Regions from separate parts of the Homo sapiens genome. Here all the other regions are linked to region 1. The links are contacts of gene promoters, found by promoter capture Hi-C in blood cells and fetal thymus (Javierre and others, 2016). All regions are on one chromosome and are shown on one strand. Each heading gives the region's core, a stretch centred on a gene start or on the middle of the fragment in contact. The rest is flanking DNA. Distances are from core to core; before and after follow the strand shown. Region 1 holds the start of ARAP1-AS2 (ARAP1 antisense RNA 2). Region 2 has its middle 9.7 kb from the start of IUR1. Region 3 overlaps IUR1 (imatinib upregulated ABL suppressing lncRNA 1).

Region 1 (4,194 bases), core at 875-3,374:
GAGAGCTTTGGAGTACATGCGTGTGCAGAGTGTGTCTGTGTTGCTGCGTGAGGGGTGCTGAGTTACATTTCTCCATGGGTGGGTCACCCACCTAGGCAGCCCTGTCTACTGCCCTGCTTGGGTGGAGCTCAATCCTGAACTTGGTTTGGGTACCATTGGCTCCCTCTTGGGGTGGGTGAGGAGGGGTCAGTGGGCTGAGCAGCACAGCTCGTGGCCCAGGCCTGGACTCTGGGGCCACATCCCAGGACTGAGGGTGGAGCTCAATGGCTGGGGCTCTGGGCTCAGGGCCATGGGTGGGCGGGGCACACTGGGCTGGAGAGAGCCCAGGTGTCCAGGGAGACACAGGAGACCACCCAACTGGCTTGGGCTTGGGGACAGATCACCGCCCCCCCACGGCGCTGACCGTGGGGAACAGGGCTGTAGTCAGGCTGCCACCTTGAGCTTCCCGCTGTCTGGGACAATCCTCTTTCCAGGGATTATTATTGAGTTTGCCCAATGCCCCCCTCATGCCAGTGTGCCTGGCCTATGCCTCCAACCTGGAGAGTGGGGTGGGGCAGGAATCAGGGAGGCTTCCTGGAAGGGGAGGTGCTGGAACTGGGCCTTGGGAGTGGAGTGAATTTCCACAAGTGGGGAGAGGTGGAGAAACAGCCTGGACAAGACCCTGCAGGTAGGAGGGGGAGCTTGAGGCTGCCAGTTAGGGAGCTGGGGCTGATGATTCGAAAGTGAGCCTGAATGCCCAGGCCAGGTGGGAGTGAGGTGGGGACACCCTCTTGGGTGGCCAGCATGACCTGCCATCCTTTCCCCGCCTACAAAGAGGTGCCTCGGCTGGACTCGATGAAGCCCCTGGAAAAGCACTACTCAGTTGTCCTGCCGACCGTGAGCCACAGTGGCTTCCTCTACAAGACTGCCTCTGCCGGCAAGCTGCTACAGGACCGCCGGGCCCGGGAAGGTGGGTGCCACCCCAGACTCTGCTTTAGCCCATGGCATCTGGTCACGGCTGCAGGGCTAGGGAAGCCAGGGCTGGCCAGACTGGTGGACTCTGGCAGAGTCACCCTAGAGGGCTTCCTGGATATAGTCTGTGGTACACAGTAGGTACTTCCTAAATGATCCTGGTGGGAGTGGGGGTAGTGCATGACACTGCAGAGCAGGTCAGTGCCAGAGTTTCTTTGGACTAAATGAGCCTTTATTGAGCCCCTACTGGATATGGGCTCTGCTGAGCATCTGGTAGTAAGAGCCTGTGGCTGGTAGGGAGTTTGAGGACTGAACGAAAGCCCTATCCATCTGATCTCAGCCTTCCATTCACTCCCCAACTCAGAAGAAAATCCACAAGAGCCCGCACAGTTGGCCACCACCCCCATTACCTCTCTGAACCACCCCCCTAATCACTCTGCCGGTCTCCTCACTGTTTCTCAGACACGTCGTCACCTACCAGGATCTTTGCCTGTGCTGTTCCCTCTGCCTGAAATGCATTCCCCCAGGTATCTGCATGGCCAGTCCCTCACTTCCGTCAGGTCTCTGTTTCAGTATCACTCCTGCAGAGATGTCATCTCTGACTACCTTATGCAAAATAGCACCCCCCATCTCTCCCTTTACCCTTTTGAGATGGAGTTTCGCTCTTGTTGCCCAGGCTGGAGTGCAATGGCGCGATCTTGGCTCACCGCAACCTCTGCCTCCCGGGTTCAAGCAATTCTCCTGCCTCAGCCTCCCGAGTAGCTGGGATTACAGGCATGCGCCATCATGCCTGGCTAATTTAGTTAGTAGAGATGGGGTTTCACCATGTTGGTCAGGTTGGTCTCAAACTCCCGACCTCAGGTGATCTGCCCGCCTTGGCCTCCCAAAGTACTGGGATTACAGGCGTGAGTCACCACGCCTGGCTACCCTGCATTTTCTTCACACCACTTACCTGGTACTCATTTGTCCATTAATGTACTTATCTATAGATTCTCTGTACCCCACTGGGACATAAACTCCTTTTGGCCACCACTGCCTGTAGCCCCCAGATCCTAGAACAGTGGCTAGCACACAGTGGGCACTTGGCAAATACCTGCAGAATGAAGGATGACTCAGGCAGAGCTGGTGCTCCTGGAGGGAGCCCACCTGCGGGGACAGGCCTGAGGACACATTGCTCTCAAAGAGCACATGTCAGGCCCTCACAGACAGGATGAGAGACAGAGTCTGCTGTGGGAACATTGTGAGGTCATTGCTGACAACATCCCTCAGCACCTCCTGCATGCTTTCCTACGGGGACAAAGCCCTCCAACTCCCAAAGAGATTTCTTTGGAACTCCATGCTGTTCACAACCTCATTGCCCCAGGTCTGCCTCCCTCTGCCTGACAATGTCATTTATGTAACAACTGCCTGAGTCATCCTTTTTGCCCTGGATGCCAGGAAGCTCTGAGCCACTGTAAAGCTCAGTGCTGTGAACGGTACAAGCCTGCATGGCCATGACAGCCTATCCTTTCCATTACCTTTCCTGGTCCAGATTCCCATTTCTGTTTCTTTTATGGGACCTTGCCAGTCCTTCAGAGCCATTGTAGCAGGAGGCAGAGTACAGAGTGATAGATGCTTCTGGAAAAGGAGGTTGGGGCATAGAAGGCTTCCTGTGACATTCAGGTGGTGGGTAGAGGGGACAAGGTTTGCAAAAGCTGGGAGTGCTGGGTAGGGATGTGTGTGTCCAGGAGTGACAGAGAGGCAGCTGGAGAGACGGGCAGGGGTAGACCTGGCAGGGCCTTGAATGGCAGGCTGAGGGGCACAGAGTCTGTCCTGAGGACCATGGAATGGTTTTGGTTAGAGGAAGGATGGGGTCTGATTTTAGCTAGATCACTCTGGGATTTTGGAAGGGGCTGCTGCAGAGGCCTGGGGGAGCGGATGACTTGTGGGCTGGCTAGCGTGGTGGGGATGCAGAGAGGTGGATGGATTTAGGGAAAACTTGAGAGAATGAAGAGCTCATGGGTCAGATGGGAGCAGGAGCCCCGGGAGGATGCAGAGGTGGTTTTCAGGTGGTGGGGGGCTCCCTGATGGCTCCCCTGCCCAAATTCTCCCCAGAGTTCAGCCGGCGCTGGTGTGTCCTTGGTGACGGGGTCCTGAGCTACTTTGAGAATGAGCGGGCAGTGACCCCCAATGGAGAGATTCGGGCCAGCGAGATTGTGTGCCTGGCAGTGCCCCCTCCTGACACCCATGGGTGAGTACTCCTGGGCAAATCAGACTGTGGTTGCTATAAGGTACAATCCCCCACTGGGGAGACAGGGAAATAGACCCAGAGAAGGGGAGGACCTCCGCAGAGTCACACAGCAAACGGAGGCTGCACAAGGGCCGACTCCAGTCTCTTGAGGCCCCAGCCCAAGACTTTTCCACCACCTCTTAGGGGACCAGAATAAGGACAAGCGCCAAGGCAGTGCGGAGGGGGCAGAGGATGGCGGTTGATGGTGCGGGTTGGGGGTGGGCCCGTGCTGGATGAGGTGGGCCTGAGTCCTGGCCTGTGTATTTGCAGCTTTGAGCACACCTTTGAGGTGTACACGGAGGGAGAACGGCTGTACCTGTTTGGGCTGGAGAGTGCGGAGCAGGCTCATGAGTGGGTCAAGTGTATTGCTAAGGTGAGCCTGGGGTAGCAGGGTGGGTGTAAGGGTGTCTGACTGGGGAAGGTGGGGCCTCCTGGCCAATCCCATGTATCCCAGCTCCCCCGTCTAGAGAGCAGAAGCTAGATGCAGGGCAGCAGACATGGAGCGGGCCTGTCCCACCAAGAGCCTACTGTAATCTGCAGCCCTCTGCGGAGTTGGTCAGACCTATCCTAGCTCTGCAGAAGAAGGGCTGTGGGCCTTGCACTCCATAGGTGCTCAATAAGTGTTTAACAGTGAATGACAGTCAGAGCCATCTTAGGATGGACAGTGCGGCCTCCAGAGGGGGTGTGCTCCTCGTTCCTGGAGGCGAGCAAGCAGAGGCTGGAGGGAAGAGGCAGGGAGGCCACCGGGAGAGCTCTGCCTCGGGGACTAGAGCCAGGTGCCTGTGGGGTCCCCTGTGCTGTGAGAGCCTGTGACTTTTTATCATTCACTTCTCCGTTGATCAGTTGTCTTGTGCGCCTCCTGAGAGTCAGCCCTCGGAGACCTGGGACCCAGATGAACCAGGCTTAGTCCTAGCTCTTCAGTAGCACCCATGTGGGTGGGGGAGACAGCTCCCCTGCGGGTGTAGTTCAGGCGG
Region 2 (4,194 bases), core at 1,182-3,681, 490 kb before region 1:
TTGATGGCATCTGCAACCTAAGTCATAAAGATCAAAGTGGGATAAAGCTGGAGTGAGTTTCTGAGTTCCAAAAATAAGTAACATCTCAGAGGTTACTTTAAAAAATAGAGGCAGCTCAGTGCAACAGAAGGAGCTTGAGCCTCAGCATTAGACAAATCTGAGTTAAAATCCTGGCTTAGCCACTGTAGCACCTACACTTCCCAAGCCTCAGTTTCTTCTTTAATCTGGGCACTGGAGATGGTGTCTGTAGGGGGGCCTGGCTCATTTAGCCAGGGCTTAGTGAAGGGTAGGTAGGCATGGCCCTGTCACAGTCATTGCGGGGTCCCCGACCACAGCTGTGAAGGGGTCTGGACAAGCAGATGCTAAACGCCACTGGGACCTGCATACAGGGAGAAAGTCACTCATCTCTTCTAATACTGGAAAGAGATTGTGACTACCTACTAAAATTGCCCCAAGCAACATTCTATGCAGAGGAGAAAGAACAATGTGGTGTGACTAGTCCTTCCAGCCTCAGTGGGACAGCCACACAGTATTTCCCATCTATCAGCTCTCTATCAATTCATCTCCTGTGTCAGGTTATTGGCCAGGGCAAGAGGGAATGAGAGGAGAGGAAGATCCAGTCCCTGACCCCTGGAAATGCAGACTCTTGCAGGGCCAGATTCTCATGAGCAATGGCATGCCATGATGCCAAGCCTCACCAGGTCCAGGCCACGGCCGGAGGTGCCGAGTTCAGGCTGTTTGCATGGTGACCTCTCAGACTTAGTCAGCGTCCCCACCATCCCCAGCTTTAGTTGCATCATTGCACTCTCACTTATGCCACTAATATTCACTGAAGCCTGCTCTGTGGTAGGGCCCGAGTACAACAGAACGTGTCCTCTGCCTGCATAAAGCCTCAGTGACATGGACCAGTTGGTCCCAGTGAAAGGGCGATTCATTCTCTCCTGTTTTGTGATTGTGTGTCTGCCTCCCCACCAGACCGTGTGCTCCATGGAGCAGGGGCTGTGCCTGTCCCGATCACTGTCGGCTCCACTGTCCTAATCACTGCCCAGAGTCTGCTCCAAAGCCTCCTCCAGAGAGGGTGCTCCATTGATTGAACAGCTCCATGAGGAGGAGGGTGACTGACAGCACTCTGGGAACCCAGAGGAGGAAGTCACAACGCTAAAGGATAGCCAAGAAAGGGCTCCTGGCAGAGGCTGTGGGTAAAGTTTGCATAGGATGGAAAGAGGCAGGGCTGGAACAAGCAAGGGTATGGCAGTAGGAATGAGGTTGAGCTTTGCAGGAGTTCTGGGGAAGAGAGGTGGCGAGGTTAGCTGAGTGCAGGCCAGGAAGAGTTCCGGTGCTGCCTCTTGGGGTCTTGGGGTCTCTCTGCCTCTCTACATAGCTCTTAGTTTCCCCTAACCCCAGGGTTCTCACTCCCTCATCCCCCTACCTTCCAACAAATCAAGAAGTTCATGGATAAGGGACCCTGAGGGCAGCAAGGGAGGTGGTGAGAGCTCCAGTTGTCTGAGTCTAAGACCTTCCTCTGATGAAGTCCCAGCTCCAATTACCTTTCCCACCTAGCATGGCCGGAGAAAGTACAAGACGCCCAGTCAAATTTGAATTTCTGATAAACAGTGAAAAATTCTTTAACATAACGGATATTTGGGACATGTGCTTATACTAAAAAGTTATTCATTGCTAATCTGAAATTCAAATTTAACAACATATCCTGTATTGACATTTGCTAAACCTTGCAAACCCTCCCTTGACCCCCGCTTTTCAGCATCTGTCATTCACCCCTGCCCTGAGCCCCCAGGAACCATCAGAGGTTGTGGGCCTCCTGCAACATACTCAACGAAACAGAAATTCAGAGCTGCTAGGAACACTGAAGCTTATCTAGCCCCATTGCTCCCCACTATAAGTGGACTAGGAGGCCGAGGCCCAGAGGAAGCAGGCACTGGCAGGTCCTTGGGCACCTCTCAACAACTTGACTGGAACTTGGGCCTTCATGACAGCAGGAGGACCCTTGGCTGGGGGCTTCTTAGGAAAGGCCAGGGCCCTCCTATTCATCATTCTGGGGCAAGGCAAGGCAGGGAGTCTCCAGGTTTCTGCCCTGACCCTGGGCTGTGGTTTCCTGGATCTTGACACCCCCAAGTGAGTCACCTCCACCTCCCAGGCTACATCTGACTCAGTGCCAAGGCCCTGGGGCTCCTCAGCTCTTACCTGGCTCCCAGGTTGGAGGAGCCAAGTGGGCAGGTTGGGGTGGCTCTTGGGCAGGACTTTGTGGGAGGGACTAGACCTTGTGAGAGGCTCATTTCCCCACAGTCCTCCTCAGGCCCTGGTAATGGTCCAGTCAAGGGCAGCCCTCAGAAACTCCCAATGGTGCGGCTGGGTGCAGTGGCTCACACCTGTAATCCCAGCACCTTGGGAGGCAGAAGCGGGCAGATCACTTGGGGTCAGGAGTTCAAGACGAGCCTGGCCAACATGGTGAAACCCCGTCTCTACTAAAAATACAAAAGTTATCTGGGTGTGGTGACGGGAGCCTGTAATCCCAGCTACTTGGGAGGCTGAGGCAGGAGAATTGCTTGAACTCGGGAGGTGGAGGTTGCAGTGAGCCAAGTTCGCACCACTGCACTTTAGCCTGGGTGACAGAGTGAGACTCTGTCTCAAAAAAAAAAAAAAAAAAAAAAAAAATAGGAACTCCCAGTGGTGCAGCTAGAGCTGAGGAGAAGGTGGAGTGCCTGGTGGCAGGCGGGGTGGGGGTACATGGGTCGGGGGTAGGGACATAGATTTAATTAAAATCACTCAGCCCATCAGGCCTGCAGGGGTCTTCTGTCAAGTGGCCATTCCCCGCTCCCCACTGAAGGTGCCCATCCCTCTGGGCTCTGTTTCTTCCTCTCATCTTTCCATTGTTATGTTATGTATTAGTTTGCTTATTGTCAATGTCTAGTTAGAACATAAATCCTGTTCACTGTTTCAAGATCATAAAACAGTACCTGGCTCAACAAGCTTTGTGGAAATTGCCCTTACTGCATTTCACCTTGTGTGGAACATGGCCCCTGATGCCACAGTCCCCCACCCACCCATGAGCATCTCAGCATCTGCCAGGAGACTGGCTGTGTGCAGAGCTTTGTGTTCCCCCGGTCCAGGTTCCAGTTCCCTCCTCTGATTACAGCCCAGCCTGGGTCCTGGGACTGAGAAAGTAAAAGCACAGGGTTGGGGCAGACTGACAGACAGTGGGTTTAGGGTGCTGCTCAGGGTGGGGCTCTCATCTGCCTGCCCCAGTGCTTCCACCCGAACCACACAAGCCCACAGCACCTAGACGTGGCCCAGGAGCTCAATCCCAGGCCCACACGGAGCTGACCCCTCCCAGCCAGTCGGGCTGAGGGTACAGCACTGAGCCAGAAGCTGATGACCTGTCTGCCTTGACTTGTGACCTGCCAGATCCCTAGGCCTTGCCGGGCCTGGCTCTGTCTGTCTGTACAATGATGGTTCTGGGCTGACTGGTCTCTGAGGCTTGCCAGCTCAGCCCACCCATGGCTTTTTCCTACCCCTTATCTACCTCTAAACCTCTGTGCCAGCCACTCCTGCATTACCCTGGGGGTACTCCTGAGCCAAGGATCTTAGACCCTCCCCTTCACCCTAGTCAGACCCTTTGCTGACCCTTCTCTGGGACCCAAGTCCTGGTCCTATCTGTCTTGGGGACCATAGGCAGTTGGTGCCAAAGACTGTCCCCAGGATACTTGGGATACTTTAAAGTCATCCAGTAAAATGTCATTCAGGGAAAATCTGTCCACATTTACCTGGCTCCAGCCCTCTAATCAATCCTCCTTTGGGACGCCTGCTCCCCTGACATGTCCAAAGCTGATGAACTCTTTATCTTTCCCCAGACCTGCTCTTCCTGTCACAACCTCAGCAAGAGCATCACCAACCAGCCGGTCACCTGGGCCAGGAACCCAGAAGCCACCAAGCCTCCTCTCATTTTCTGCCTGCCCTCCTCCCATCCTTAACTAAATCCTGGCCACCCCTCTGTGCTATCCTGGGGACTGTCCACCTCTCACCTTCCGCTGAACTGCCCAACTTCATCCTTCATCTTTTCCTCCTGAACCTCAAAAGCAGAGGGCCCTTTGACACTGCTGTCTGCCTTCAGTCCATGCTTCATGCAGCAACCAGAGAGGGACCCTGCTGGCCACACACCCAGCCTTGTCACTCCCC
Region 3 (4,194 bases), core at 1,028-3,527, 460 kb before region 1:
TTCTTTTCCTTCCAAGTGTAGTCAAGAACTGTTTTCATTTGTGTGCTGGGTGTGCAAAACATTGCAGACTAAAGACTCCTTTTGCATAAACAAGATTGGTTGCCCAGGCACATGCTTATGGTGACTGGTCTAACCTGCTTCTGAACTAATGGGTGATCTGAATTTAGCATCTTGGCCTAGGGAGTGGAACTGAAGGTCACAACTGGAGCTGGGCCTCACGTAGGCTCCCTCATGTGTAGGCAGAAAATGCTGTCTTCTCTGTGGGTGAGCAAAGGTTGCCTATTTGCAAGAAACTATATCCCAAACATTCTTTCAAAGTGCCTAAAATTCCACCAGTAGAATTACACCTTCTTTGCACAACAGAGCTGAAAGGCTGTTGAAGCAGCACATTCCAGCAACCTTTTGCTCAGATTGTTGTGCCTTTGGAGTAACTGTGATCCTTGGTGAAATGTGAATGGAGTCAGGGAAGGGATGCATGTGAAGCCCTTAGTGGCTGGATTAACCAACTGTTGTCACCAGCTCCTTCGGTCAATTTGGTCTATTAGCTGAGCTCAGTGCTCCTAATGGGGAACAGAGGAACCTGGACCCAGGCTGGATAAGCTTTGTAGGGACAGTGAACAGGAAATAGCCTGAGTACTTGAGTACTATCATGGGCTGTAGACATAGGCAAGGGGCCATGGTGGAATCCTGAAGATGAGGAGCGGCTCTTGAAGGGGACCCACGAAGGAAACCTAAGTAAGGAAAGAGGCCCAGAGACTTTCCCTCCCATTCCCCAGGGTTGTCTTGAGCTGGCTTGGGTGCAAAAAGGAATAATATACTTTCCTGGTCCCCCTCATCCTGCCCCACCTCTGGAACTAGAGAACCAAATAACTTGAGAACTGCATGTAACTTGTGTGGTCCCTCCACCAGCTTAAGGTAAAAACTATGGCCAAATTTTTTCCCCATTAATTGCTTGAGCTCCACAAGATTTTATCAGCAGGAAGTTCAATCTGGCCCTCTGGAGGCCTTCCCCCATGTCACAGGAGTGCTCAAAACCCACAGGGACTACACTAGCTCCTTTCCAACAAAGGCACTCTTGAGTCCCAGTCTTGCTCCATCTTACTGTTCAGAGTCCCAGCAGCTGTGAACACATGACCCCCAAATCCAAGCTTTCATTCACACTCCTGAGCTCCAGCAAGTTTCACCAGGAGGAAGGTCCAGAGGGGCTTCTAGGTCCTCAGCCCCAGAGTTAAGCCTGGCCACCAGTCCAAGGCTCCTTCCTACACCACTGGGGGCTCAGGGGTTCTTTCCTTCCAACAAGTGGGGCTCACTGGGGATGGTCATCTTAGCAGCCAGATAACTTTGAACCTCACAAGGAAAGTGACTGGACCTTCTTCCATTTGTGCCCTGGGGCTCCTTTGTCAACGTCTCACTCCTCCCAAATATGTTGCCTTTTTCTTCAGCTCTGCATCCCATTTGATGTTAGGAGAGGCAGCCTTTGTTGGGCCACAAAAGGTCCTGTTTTGTCTCCCAGGTGCTACTTACATCTGATAAACTCAAGTGGTGGACAGAACAGAGAGGGCCTCCTCCAAGGTGACTTGCTAAGTCCTCCCCTAACGACGAAATAGAGAAGCTTCCTGCCCCTGTTACACATGGCCTCCTCCCGGTAAGTATCCCAGAAAGGAAGTGACTTCAGTGACCATTAGTCAGGGACTTTTATACTATGCCACTGGGTTCCTCAGAAAAGACCTCTGTGTGGGGCAAGTCAGGGAGAGGGAGACCAAGAGAAAGTGCCCTCTACACACGAGCACCCCCTCAATACACATACACGCATGCACGCACACGCACGTGCATAGTTATCAGCCCCATGCGACCTTACCTGCCCTTCTTGCCTCCAGTTAACCACTATCAACTCCTCACCAAAGCCTTCATGCAGTCTTTGGGTAACTTTTCCTCTGATTAAAGAACCCTGCAGCTAAAATACGGTTTTTGTTTTGTTTTGTTTTGCTTTGTTTTTTATTTAGAGACAGGGTCTTGCTCTGTCATCCAGGCTGGAGTGTAGTGGTGTAATCATAGCTTACTACAGCTTTGAACTTCTGGGCTCAAGTGATCCTCAGCCTCCCAAGAAGCTGGAACTACAAATGTGCACCACTGTGCCTGGCTAATTTTTTCTTAAATTATTTTGTTGTTGTTGTTGTATAGACAGGAGTCTGCTTAGGCTGGTCTCGAACTCCTGAGCTAAAGCAATCCTCTGCCTTGGACTCCCAAAGCATTGGGATTACAGGCACGAACCACTGCACCTGGTCAAATATGTTTTTTGAAAAAAAATCTCCAGGCCAACCACAATGAGATACCACTTCACACCCATTATGATGGATATAACTTTTTGTTAAAAGGAAAATTACAAGTGTTTGCAAGGATGTAGGAAAATTGGAACCCTAGTGCACTGCTCATAGAAATGTAAAATGGTGTAACCACTGTGGAAAACAGTTTGTTGGTTCCTTTAGAAGTGAAACATTGAGCTACCAAGTTGATCCAGCAATTTCCCTTCTAGGTCTATATCCCCCAAAATGGAAAGCAGAGACTTAAGCAGATACTTATATACCAATGTTCACAGCAGGATTATTCTCAATAGCCAAAAAGTGGAAATAACCCAATTGTCCATCAACAGATGAATGGCTAAACAAAATGTATACCCATAAGGTGAAATATTATTCAACTTTTAAAAAGGAATGCAGTACTGACACATGTACAACATGGATGAATCCTGAAAACATTATGAAAGAAGCCAGATACACACAAAAAACAAGTATTGTATGATCCCACTTATATGAGGTACCTAGAAAAGGCAAATTCATAGACCAAAAGCAGAATAAGAGGATTATCAGGGGTAGGAGGAAGGGGAATGGGGAGTTAATGTTTAATAATTACAGAGTTTCTGTTTGGGATGATGAAAAGCTTTGGAAATGGGCTGGGCGCAGTGGCTTACACCTGTAATCCCACCACTTTGGGAGGCTGAGGAGGGCAGATCACCTGAAGTCAGGAGTTCAAGACCAGCTTGACCAACATGGTGAAACCCATCTCTACAAAAATACAAAAAAATTAGAGGGGCATGATGGCGGGTGCCTGTAATTCCAGCTACTCAGGAGGCTGAGGCAGAAGAATTGCTTGAACCTGGGAGGCGGAGGTTGCAGTGAGCCATCATGCCATTGCACTCCAGCCTGTGCAACTGAGCAAGACTCCGTCTCAAAAAAAAAAGCTTTGGAAATGGATAGTGGAGCACAACATTGTGTATGTACTTAATGACACTGCATTGTACATCATTGTACATCTAAAATAGTTAAAATTGTAATTTTTATATTCCGCGTATATTTTTATCACATACACACAATGCCCATGCCACCTTTCTCTGCCTCAAGCAGAGGCAAAGCTTTCCATGGAGCTTTCTCCCTCCTTGGCCGAGCAGTTAGATGGGACGAGAGACACGGGAGCACCCAGCCAGCACCTGCACACAGGAGCAGTCTCTTCCACTTCATCTGCCTACAGACTGTCCTGACCAGACGAGCCCTTAGTGTTTACAGAGTCCACCTCTTCATCGTACAGACGGGAGTGTGATATGCCCAAAGTCATATACTTTGGTGACTCACTGCCCCATGCTCTCTCTCTCCTGGGCTGGTATGCTGGGAACAGACAACTTTGGGGCTAGGCAGGGTTTCTCTGGGAGGTGATGACATATGACCTCTGGCCTCTGAAGGCTCCTCAACTGGGCTAGGGTGGGGACCAGGATACTGAGAGCTAGGATGGTCTCACACCCAGATGAAGACATAGCCACCTCCACCTAGATGTGATGGGGACACCCCACCTACTCCCCAAGCATTTCCTTAGTCCCATTCCTCCCTCCCATCCTGCCCTGTCCTCCCATGTGACATCACTCCTCTGGCCTGTGTCCCCACAAGACTCCGTAGGGTAGAGAACGACAAGATAGGACAAACTGATAGGCCTGGATGTAGGGTGCCCAGATTAGTTTATCTGTTCAGCAAACTGTCCTTTGCAGGAAAAGCCTGCCCCCGGTGCTGCTGAGCATCGACTTGGAGGGCAGGCATGTCTGAGCCCTGAGGTCAGGAGAAAACTTCCTACTACTCCAGGTGCTTTTCCAGGTCTAGAATTTCTTGGCCAAGGGACAGAGCTTCAAATCATTTCCCAGCAAAGCGAGAA

Evidence for each region. Contacts are between HindIII fragments. The CHiCAGO score rates a contact against its expected background, and 5 or more counts as called.
Region 2: a contact is called between a fragment that was not itself captured here and the fragment with the promoter of ARAP1-AS2 in region 1, in 3 of 17 cell types (activated CD4 T cells, neutrophils and fetal thymus). The highest score is 7.7, in activated CD4 T cells.
Region 3: a fragment that was not itself captured here is called in contact with the fragment with the promoter of ARAP1-AS2 in region 1 in 1 of 17 cell types (erythroblasts); the score reaches 6.1 in erythroblasts.

The regions. Positions count from the first base shown.
Region 1 is chr11:72,698,404-72,702,597 of GRCh38, reverse strand. ARAP1-AS2 (ARAP1 antisense RNA 2) reads right to left here and starts at 2,124. Exons shown (of 2, transcript NR_146780.1): 1 at 2,045-2,124. It overlaps ARAP1 (ArfGAP with RhoGAP domain, ankyrin repeat and PH domain 1), which reads left to right. Exons shown (of 35, transcript NM_001040118.3): 16 at 815-949; 17 at 3,046-3,181; 18 at 3,491-3,593. RefSeq lists a silencer at 1,479-1,578. The HindIII fragment of the contact is 37,247 bases long and covers 1-4,194 here.
Region 2 is chr11:73,190,460-73,194,653 of GRCh38, reverse strand. No RefSeq gene overlaps it. Among named protein-coding and RNA genes, the nearest start is that of IUR1, 9.7 kb to the right of the region's middle. The HindIII fragment of the contact is 1,118 bases long and covers 1,873-2,990 here.
Region 3 is chr11:73,159,991-73,164,184 of GRCh38, reverse strand. IUR1 (imatinib upregulated ABL suppressing lncRNA 1) reads left to right here. Exons shown (of 4, transcript XR_950294.3): 3 at 1,514-1,645. Among named protein-coding and RNA genes, the nearest start is that of FCHSD2, 20 kb to the right of the region's middle. The HindIII fragment of the contact is 1,325 bases long and covers 1,615-2,939 here.